3 separate regions of the Homo sapiens genome follow, and all the other regions are linked to region 3. Evidence: promoter capture Hi-C in 16 types of primary human blood cells and fetal thymus (Javierre and others, 2016). All regions are on one chromosome and are shown on one strand. Each heading gives the region's core, a stretch centred on a gene start or on the middle of the fragment in contact. The rest is flanking DNA. Distances are from core to core; before and after follow the strand shown.

Region 1 (3,612 bases), core at 222-2,721, 190 kb after region 3:
CTAATATATACACATATTCATTTCACTTGCTCCTATCTTCCTGATGTAGGTATCTCATGATTTTGGGTAAATCAGAAGTTATTGTTTATGTTATTAAGATTGTACAGATTATTCTTAATAGTAATTACTTTGGAGATAGTAATTGCTTTGTTTTATGGTTTGCTTTTTTTTCTATATACCTAATTCATCCTTAGAACTGCTTTGACTCTTTTCTCAGTATAATCCCACATAGGAGGTATTCTGGGAACATGAGTTCTCTTTGCTCTCATTCAGCTTAATTGCTCTACCAGTCTAAAATAGCAGAGCTACCATTTTCGGATTTTCTTTTACCAACTTTGGGAAATTCTCTTTGCCTCTCTCCTTTGTTAAATTTTCTGTTTCTTAGCATCATTTATCTTCCTTTTTTCTTGTTTTGATGGAGATATCCCCCAATAGGTTCCTGAAGAAAGGTGAATGGGAAAAAACATTTTTTCAGGCCTTACGTGTCTGAAAGATTTTTTTCTTATGCTTGATTTTCTCGGGCATAGAATTGGGTTGAAAAATCACTGACCTTCGATATTATATCTCAATAAACTTTTTAATTGATATATATATGGGATACATGTGATATTTTGATACATGCGTAATGTGTAATGATGGTCAAATTAGAGTATTTAGGATATCCATCACCTCAAATGTTTATCTCTTTTTGTGTTGGTAACATTTCAAATCTTCTAGTTAATTGAAATGTACAATATATTATTGTTAACCATTGCCACCCTACTGTACTATTGAACACTAGAACTTATTCCATCTATCTAACTGTGTATTTGTACCAATTAACCAATTTCTCTTCATCTCCTTTTTTAGCTCCCACATAAGATTGAGAAAATAACGGTACTTTTTCTTTGTGTGCTTGTCTTATTTCATGTAACATAATGACTTCTAGTTCCATTTATGTTACTACAAGTTATAGGATTTTGTCCTTTGTACAGCCAAATAGTATTCCACTGTGTATATTTACCACATTTCATTTATCCCTTCATTTACTGATGGGCATGTAGGTTGATTCTATATCTAGGCTATTGTGAATAGTGTTGCAGTAAACATGGGAGTGTAGCTATCCCTTTGATACACTGATTTCCTTTTTTTTGGATAAATACCCATTAGTGGGATTGATGAACTGTATGGTAGTTCTAGTTTTGTTTTTTTGAGAAAACTCCGTACTGTTTTCCATAACCACTGGCACCTGAGCAAGCTGCCTGTAGGCCCAAGGACTGGTCCTCCTGGACCTGTGACTACTGGCGTCTTGTATGCTGCCTGGGAGCCCAAGGGCCTGCATGCCTGGCCTGCCTCTGCCACCACGGGTGCCTCAGAACTGGCCTGTCTGGTGTCCCTGTCTGCAGCAAAGCCTCACTACAGCCTCTGCTACCAACCACAGCCTAAGCCAATGAGTAACTCACAGCCACCACTGACACTGACTACACCTGAAGAAATTGTATGAAGACTACTCTCCTGCACTCACCCAGAATCAAAGCCAAAGCACACTATCCAACTAACGCTACGACATTTGGGGGACCTGTTAAATCTGAAACTCATGTCTTTCAATTCTGAGAGATTATATTATTTCTTTCGTGTTATTTCTTTCTCTCTCTGAATCTTTTCTTATTCAGATATGGATACTTTTACACTAATTCTCTATTTTACTATCTTCCCCCTTTACTGTTGTCCACTTATTCATCTTTTTCTTTTAATTTCTGGGGGACTTTTCAGATGTAACTTCAAAGTAATTTTTTTCTGCTATTAAATTTTTAATTTTTAAGAGGTTTTAAAATTCTCTGATTTTTTTTAAATTACAAAATATTTCATAAATTAAAAAAGTATATATAAAACATGTTATATAAGATATAATAAAGAATAAACAAATACACATGTACCCTACTCCTCAACTTGAGACAAAGAACATAAAACAAATGGGTCCTTTATCTTTCTCCATGCATCTCCTTCCTCCCCTCCCACCCCAGGCAACCAGAATCCTGATTTTCATGTTTATTATTTTATTTAAAAAAGTTTCACTCATCTAAATTCCCAAATAAGGTAATATTTAGTTTTCCACAGTTCTGAACTTAACAGAGTTTGTGTTTTTCTTTTTTTTCTTTTCTTTTTTTTTTTTTTGAGACTGAGTCTCAATCCGTCACCCGGGCTAGCGTGCAATGGCACAGTCACGGCTCATTGCAGCGTTGACCTCCTGGGCTTAGGCAGTCCTCCTGCCTCAGCTGGGAATACAGGTGTGTACCATCACATCTGGCTAGTTTTTTTTTTTTTTTTTTTTTTTTTTTGGTAGAAATAAGGTTTCATTATGTTGCCCAGGCTGGTCTCTTTTCCCTTTATTTATGATGCCCTAAATTAAAAAAATTTTTCTTCAAACATGAACAGAAAGGTACTGAACTCCTATGTACCCATCACTTAGTTTCAGCAGTTATCACTCAGCCAATCTTGTTTCATCTGTACTACTCCTCCCCCAGTTGGATTATTTAGGCTTGTGTCACTGATGTCATTCGTCTGTAAATATTTCAGTATCTACTTTTGAAGTATAAAGATTTTACAAAAATATCCACAATATATAGTGAGTTAATTGTAGTTTGAATCTTGTTTAGGAAAATTTCTTACTGTGATGCTATAAAAGTATTCTTTTTTATTTTCTCCTAAAATCTTAAAATTTTAATCTCTTATAATTAAGTCCCTAATCCAAATGAAAGTTGTCTCAATAACATTTACTGAATAGTTCATTCTTTTTCCATTGATCTGCCATACCATTTCTGACATGTATTAAATAATGCTGCAGCAGATGTCTTGTACATGTCTGTTAGGCTCTTGTGTGGATTTCTCTTGGGTATATACATAGGAATAGAATTGCTGGGTTATATGTTATATGTATCTTTAATTTCAGTAGATAATACCAATCTGTTTTCCAAAGTTGATATACTAATTTACACTCTCATAGTATACAATAGTTCCTGTTGCTCCTAGCCAGTGCTGATGTGGTCTGACTTTTAAACTTTTGTAAATTTGGTAGATGTCAAGTACCACCTCCGTGTAGTTTTTTTTGCTTTTTGTTTTTTTAGAGACAGAGTCTTACTCTGTCACCCAGGCTGGAGTACATCGGCCGATCATAGCTCACTGTAACCTTGAACTCCTGGGCTCAAGCGATCCTCCTGCCTCAGCCTCCTAAGTAGCTGGGACTACAGGCATGCACCACCATGGCTGGCTAAGTTTTATCTATTTTTTTTTGGTAGAGTTGTTATCTCCTTATGTTGCCCAAGCTGGTTTTGAACTCCTGACCTCAAGTGATCCTCCTGTTTTGGACTCCCTAAGTGTTGAGATTACAGGCGTGAGCCACTGTGCCTGGCCTCCTTGTAGTTTTAAAGTGCATTTCCCTGATTATTAATGAGGCTAAATACCTTTTCATTTATTTATTGGGTATTTGGATGACTGATTTAAAAGAAAGTAACTGGGCAAGTTCCTTGCCTGTTTTTAAAATAGTTTTTGGTCTTTTGTTGATTTGTAGGAGTTCTTTATTATGGGTATGAGCTTTTTGTCAGTTACATGTTTTGCAAAGATCTTCTCCCACTC
Region 2 (3,289 bases), core at 742-3,241, 210 kb after region 3:
TCCCCTGTCCCCAAACTGGAATTCACTGAAGGTTGATGCATTCGTGTATTTTGTTTTTAAGTTAATAGTTTAATTTCATATGTCTATCATTAATTCTTAAGATTTACATTTACCATTAAATTCAGTTAAAGTTTTTACAAATGCTGCTAAAATTATGTTGACTTGTTTAGCACCTTTTCTTTATATAGATTAGTCATTGTAAGCACTTGTCATGTTTTTAAAGAAATAAAAAAAATTATATTGAAATCTCTTTTATTTCCACAGATATTCCAAATGTCTTGGTTGGCACTGCATTTAATGTTGATGATGGAAATGGGGGCTTTGTAGTTCATTGGTTAAACAACAAGGAATTTCATTTTACATCATCTACAGAAGTATTTATGCATCAATTACGAAAACTTTCTGATAAGCAGGTAGATCATGAAAATGATGATGCAGATAGAGAAGATGAGGAACATTCACAGGAGGATAGAGAACGGGGTTTACATATGAAATTAGACCATGGTTAGTATCCTGTGTTCAGATTTTACTTACTCCAAAGTTAACAGCTTTCTGTGGTACCACTTTTAGTTTTGAATTCTTCCTTCCCGCTCTTCCTCCTTTTTACTTTTCTATTTGTTACACAAGTATTTACTGACCATCTGCCTTGGATCAGGTACTCTGCTAGCCCCTGCAAACATCATCTAACTCTATATGTTCTTTGGAAGCCATATCCTTTTCTGGGGAACAGGTTTTGCTAAATGGTAGTAATAATGATAGGGTGAATGAAGTTTTAATTTATCTAAAAGTAGTAACTGTAGTAACATTCAATTCAGACAAAAGTTTCCTTTGTTTTTTTTTCTGACTGTAAATTGGAAAAGAGATTTAGTTTTTAAAGATAGTATGCCATTTATTTATAGTCTAGTATGTAAATGAATTATTTAATGCTTGTATTGATAAATATATTTTCTGGTTCAGATTTATCCCTGGATAGAGAATCTGAGGCAGGTACAGGATCATCAGAACATGAAGATGGAGAAAGAGAAGGAAGTCCTAGAACTTACTCACGACTTAGTGTACCAATGCCACTGCCTACGGTTCTGCTTGATCGGAAGATTGAAACGCTGCTAACTGAATGGAATAAGAATCCTGATATGCTTTTTACAATACACCCTGTAGATGGTACCTTTCTAGTGTGGCATGTGAAGTATTTGGATGAATATAATCCTGGAATATTTAGACAAGTTCAGGTATATTTTATTGATGAAATAGTTATTACATTTCTTAAAATAGTAAAAAGAAATAAATGCTTTGTAGAGTTAGCATGTTTTTAGAATTACTGAAAATTTTGGTTTTGATAAGCATCTGAGTAAAGAATACTTCTTTCTTTCAGAAGGGATCAGTGACCATAAGCTTAGCAAACTTGATTAGTTAGAAGATAATGAATTTGGCCTTGAAATGCAGTACTGAATATTTAAATATATGTGTTGATTTTTGAGGGAATTAATAATATTTTGAATAAGATTAAGAAACTACCCTGAAAATGTGAATCAGGATGAGCTCCTCCTTGTGGCCAATTTGATGAGCTAAACGAAGCTGCCTTTGTCATCTCTCTCAACTTTATTGCTATTTAGATCTGTGGCTGTGGTCATTTTGTTGTACAAGCAAAGCACTTGAACTTTTTTTCTTCAGCCTTCTCTTAGGCCATGAATAGAGATATGGTATTACCTAAATAGAGCAAGGGGACTGGACCATAAAGAGGTTGAAAATGACATTTTTTGATAAGAAGCTGAGATTTGGTATTTTGAGAATAGAAGTCTTTTTTTTGAGAGGAGGTAAACTATTTGCACTGAATCATATAATTATGTTTTTCAGGTTTCTTTTTCTTCTCGGATTCCTGTTGCATTTCCCTCTGGTGATGCAAGCTCTCTTAGTAAAAATATCATGATGTATGCCTGTATAAATGCGACAAAAGATTCTCACCACACGCTGTTACACCAGGAGGGGATGTCTGTAGGCAGTCCTCACGGATCACAGCCACACTCTAGATCCCACAGTACACATATGAACATCTTAGCTCCCACAGTAATGATGATCTCTAAACACATAGATGGTTCTTTAAATCAGTGGGCAGTCACTTTTGCTGATAAGTCTGCCTTTACCACTGTTCTAACTGTATCTCACAAATTTAGATATTGCGGTCATCGATTTCACCTCAATGACCTGGCATGTCATTCAGTTTTACCACTGTTATTGACATCCTCTCATCATAATGCTCTATTGACTCCTGAATTAGATTGTCAGTGGGACTCAGACAATAAATTAAGTAGATTAATGGACCCTGTAAAACATATAAAAGGTTCCTCGAAACAACCTCTTAGAAATGCAGCAACTCGTACATTTCATGACCCAAATGCAATCTACAGTGAACTTATTCTGTGGCGTGTAGACCCAATAGGACCTTTGTCATACACTGGAGGAGTATCAGAATTGGCTCGAATTAACTCTTTACATACCTCAGCGTTCTCTAATGTGGCTTGGCTTCCAACTCTCATTCCCAGTTACTGTCTAGGTAAGTGTTCATTGTAATTGTGAAATTAACACAAGCTTTTAAACTATTATTTGTTATATACGAAATGGTTTATATTTGTTGTCATTAAGATTTTTAATAAGTATTCAGTTTTCATTAAGGTGATTTTTAATAAATATTCAGAATACAGGCATGAGACTGATTTTTAGAACTTCCAGAAGTTTTTAACCTTTTCTCTCATAATCCATTTTTTAATTAAACTTTTTGTTAATAATTTTGTATCTACTTATTGTGCCTGTTTAATTATGATTCTAGACCATGGTTAAGCCTAAAAAAAATGTGAATACTTGTTTCTTATCCTTTAGCCAATAAGAAAAATACACTACATGTTTAGAACCCAGAGGCCTTGTTTTCCTTTCTCAGGCACATACTGCAATTCTGCAAGTGCTTGCTTTGTTGCTTCTGATGGCAAAAATCTGAGACTCTATCAAGCTGTAGTGGATGCAAGGAAATTATTAGATGAATTGTCAGACCCAGAATCTTCAGTAAGTATTTAATAATCTTTATTAATTTATCTAAGGAGATAAAGAATTCTCTTTTGACTTTGTCTAGGACCTGTGTTTGTTAGTTGCTGTTTAGGGAGTAAGTATATGTTCTGGGCTGCATATGACATATATATGACACATTTATTTTTTCCTAAGCTGTGTTCCAAGGTACATGAATCAAAATTTTAGTGTACATACCACACATTAATACATTTTACATGAAAAGAAATAAAAA
Region 3 (3,690 bases), core at 744-3,243:
ATCCCCAACTATCTCCAAATTGTCTTTTATAGCTTTTTTTTTTGCATCTAGGATTCAAAGTTCACACATCCCAATTCACTATTGTATCACTTGAGTATTTTAACCTACAATAGTTGCTCCCATTTGCTCTGCCCCATCGCCAAGTCTTTTTGCAGGAACACTACAGAGGTGAAATTATGCCTCCTTATTGCTTCACAACGGGAGACTCGCAGTAGATGCTGCTAAACTTGGTCATTTGGTTCCAGTGGTGACCTCCTAATTTCTCCATTGTAAGGACAAATTTTCCCAGAGTAAACTGTGGTGAGATACTTTGAAATAATATGAAAATCCTATTCCCCAACCACCTTTCACTCAAAGGTTTTGGACCAGTTGGTAAGTCCTTGCCTTATTCAACTGTTATGTTAGGTTTGCAGAGCGCCGAGTTCCTGATTCTCTCATTCCTTCTATTGCATATTTCTTTTTCAAACAATGATCCATCAGTACGCAACTTCTCTTTTCTGTGTATACACATTCTGGTTACTTCTTGCTGGGGCTTCCTCCCCGACCTCCATGCTGACCACATTTGACCACTCGTGCCCAGCCCTAGGGAGCCACTAATCCTTTATCTGCTGATCCCATCACTTCACCTTCAGCAAATTAAAGACAAAAACAAACCCCATCATTTTGTTGCCCACCAATGTACAGTACCTTACAAAAATTAAAATGATTGCAATGCGTATTTATTGGGTTAGACTGAAGAGAGTCGATCGAGAAAATCAGTTTTATCTTTAAAAAAAAATCAGATTGCTGAAGCTCTGAAAAATCTTTCCTCCTCACTAGGGTAGAGGCGCTTGTTGTCACAATTAGGCTTTTTGTAGTGCTGTTAAACAGAAACACTCTCATCTTTTCAGTTCCCTGAGAGGGGAGAATCTTGGAAGAACAGAGGTTTACAAATCATTTAGCCCAAACGCCCCTTTACATGCAGAGGCCCAGAGAGGTGGAGGGACTTGCCCAGGTCCCTCAGCTCCTGAATGGTCAAGCTAAGAGGAGAACCTGGTTTTTAAAACACCTCCCCCGATCTTCTTTTCATTCCCGTCCTAAATGCCTCGTGATTCAGATATGTAATGGGCACAGACGAAGCTGCAGTAAGCACGGCCTCCTTCACTGCTAATTTGCATTGTGACGGCATCACCTTCCTACCTCTGAATACTCTAAAAATTCCCATTAGAAGCCTTTTATTACTGTTTTAAAAATCCACCTTCATTTCCGCAGGTCAACAGGGAACATTTAGGAAGCCTCAAGGGAGCACATACTACAATTACTTTAACCAGAAAAGTAATAACAATAATAATAAGGTTCTCGAGGATCCGCACGAGGCCGCTTACTGGGAGGCTGAAACGCCCTGCGAGTGACAGCTCCAGCGATCTCAGGAAAGACGCCGGCCAGTCCACCCCTCCCCATCGCCTGCTGAACGAGGCAGGGAGATGCATACCGCTCCAGGAGCTCACCAAACATGCACAGGAAGGGGAAAAGTGGGGGAACAAAGCCCGGAGTGGAAGAACACAGCCCCGCAGCCCGGGAGGACAGGAGACCGCGCCCTCCCCGCTGCGGCCCAGCGGGCTGCAGAGGCTGCGGCACCGCAGTGCGGGGCGCGGGACTCACACCCCGGCGGGCGCCTCCCGCCCGGGCGCAGCGCCTGGTCTCCCGGCGCAGCCGACCGGGCCGGGAGGCGAGAGGCGAGAGGCGGCCCGGCTCTGCACGCCCGCCCGGCCGACCGCCCATGTCGCGGAGCATCCTCCCGCGGGCAGGGAGGGCACGGCGGCCACCGCGCTGCGGGCCCGGGGGCTGCAGACACCGGCTGTCCAGAACAGGCCCCACCCGCCCCCCGGGGCGCTCACCCGTCCGTGCGCTCATCCCGGAGCCGGCTGTGCTGGCCGTCAGTCCGTCAGCCCCGGTGGAGCGGGGCCGGGAGAACAGGGGCGGCGCCGTGGCCGGGGCGAGCGCGGCGATCAACAGGCGGCTCCCGGCCGGGCGCGGCGCCGGGGCGCGCGGCTGCAGCGGAGCAGGCTGGGAAGCGTAGTTCCCGGCTGAGCCTCGCCGCGGCCCCGCAGTCCCCCAGCCCCGCCCTTCCCCGACAGGTGTCCTCTCCCGGAATCGGGGTCTGAACCCCGCCACAGCTCTGCAGGGGAGGAAGCACCTGGGTCGGGGAGAAGCCTGGGCAGGCTCTTTGGAGACGCTCGGGGCTCCGGAGAGCGTGGATGGCAAAGGCTTTCAAGCCTGTGATGAGCATTCCTGTGAGCGAGCATCCTGACACGGAAGCCGCGTTGAGAGCGGTCTCAGGTACAGACCCCGCCCGCCCCAGGTTTTCCTGGCTGGGCGTGGGCGTGGGAGGAGAGAGTAGTTGGGTTGGCAGCCTAGGGAGGGAAGGAGGTAAGCGAGGTGGAAGTTAGCAAGGCTCTAGGGTGATGGCGTGAGGGGCTGGAGAGCCCAAGCGCAGTGGCGGCTTCACTGAGGTGAGACCGGACAACTTAGCCTGTCTGAGCCTTCGCGTCCTCATCTGTAAAACAGGCTTCAAGCTTGAAAAAGTGTTGTGAGGATTAAGCGACCCATAGCACTTAGGATCTGGCACTTAGTGCATACTCAGTGAAAGTTCCTTCCTTGGGGTTTCCGAGGGAGTTCTTGGGCCGGGAAAGTCCTATATGTCGTGCTAACCTAAAGATAGTTGGACCTCGTTGGGCTGGGTAAATGTTAAAATCCACTGGGTTTGTTAGTCGTTGAGCCCGTTCACTTCATCCCTGAATATACCCTGAGATGTTCTGTCTGCCAGGTTCTTGAGAGCTCCAAAGATAGAGAAAATAAAGTCAAGTTTCTGAAGCATGACAGCAGAGTGGGGTGACATAGGACAAAGACCAACATTATGAAAATACATGGCATCTAGATTTAACTTCCAGAGGCCTTTTCTAATTAGATGTGATATCTCTCTCCTTCTTGAACTTTTGCAGCATATTTTGAGCATAACCTTTGCTTATGGGACTTATCTTGGCAGTCTAAGGTTCGTTGAGTTTTGCAAGTTGCTGCTATGCAGTGTTTCACATGATGGTGGGATTTGCATTCACAGATGTAGTGGAGGAAAATGAACCAAAGGGATGGATGCAGCATGGCTGGTGTAATCTCTATATGAAATTTTAGGCAAAATGTGAAAAGAGGTGAAACAGCTTTATAGTCTGTCTGGCACGAGGTGTGCAGTAATCGTGTGGCCAAAAAAACGTGCTGCAGAGGAAATTCCACATCTGAAAATGATAACACTGGTTTGCATTTATGAAAATACTTTCCTATTTGTGTTCTCATTTGATTTTTACAAGAACCCTTGTGAGACAGGCAGAGTGAAGGTATTTTTCCCCAATGATAGTTAATAAGAGGCACAGAGAGGTGATGTGACTTATTCAAGGTCATAGGGGTGTTCAGTAAGCCTGTCTTCTCTCCTTCCACTGTGGGCACCCCCAGCACTGTCTCCCTTTTGCACATTGCAAAATAGGGCCATACCTTCCCCAGCAGATGGGTTGAACCAGAAAGTAAAGTTAATCCTCTAAAACTCTGGGAACTAGCATGATGAACACTGGCACGCAGTGGCTGCTGACTGAGAGACCAGTGTTGTTTCTATGATCAATTGTGGTAATGGACTATATCTTGGGCCTCCTGTCAGAATGACAA

What was found. Contacts are between HindIII fragments. The CHiCAGO score rates a contact against its expected background, and 5 or more counts as called.
Region 1: a contact is called between a fragment that was not itself captured here and the fragment with the promoter of TMOD2 in region 3, in 2 of 17 cell types (neutrophils and monocytes). The highest score is 6.1, in neutrophils.
Region 2: a contact is called between a fragment that was not itself captured here and the fragment with the promoter of TMOD2 in region 3, in 1 of 17 cell types (monocytes). The highest score is 5.8, in monocytes.

What each region holds. Positions count from the first base shown.
Region 1 is chr15:51,559,211-51,562,822 of GRCh38, reverse strand. All of the region lies in intron 6 of DMXL2 (Dmx like 2), which reads left to right. Among named protein-coding and RNA genes, the nearest start is that of DMXL2, 62 kb to the left of the region's middle. The HindIII fragment of the contact is 6,262 bases long and covers 1-3,612 here.
Region 2 is chr15:51,535,428-51,538,716 of GRCh38, reverse strand. DMXL2 (Dmx like 2) reads left to right here. Exons shown (of 44, transcript NM_001378457.1): 10 at 265-504; 11 at 958-1,229; 12 at 1,855-2,551; 13 at 2,933-3,054. Among named protein-coding and RNA genes, the nearest start is that of DMXL2, 86 kb to the left of the region's middle. The HindIII fragment of the contact is 1,194 bases long and covers 1,395-2,588 here.
Region 3 is chr15:51,749,900-51,753,589 of GRCh38, reverse strand. It overlaps TMOD2 (tropomodulin 2), which reads right to left and starts at 1,993. Exons shown (of 10, transcript NM_014548.4): 1 at 1,878-1,993. It also overlaps a transcript of LYSMD2 not described here. RefSeq lists silencers at 1,580-1,639, 1,670-1,779, 1,830-2,259 and an enhancer at 2,370-2,439. The HindIII fragment of the contact is 6,757 bases long and covers 1-2,557 here.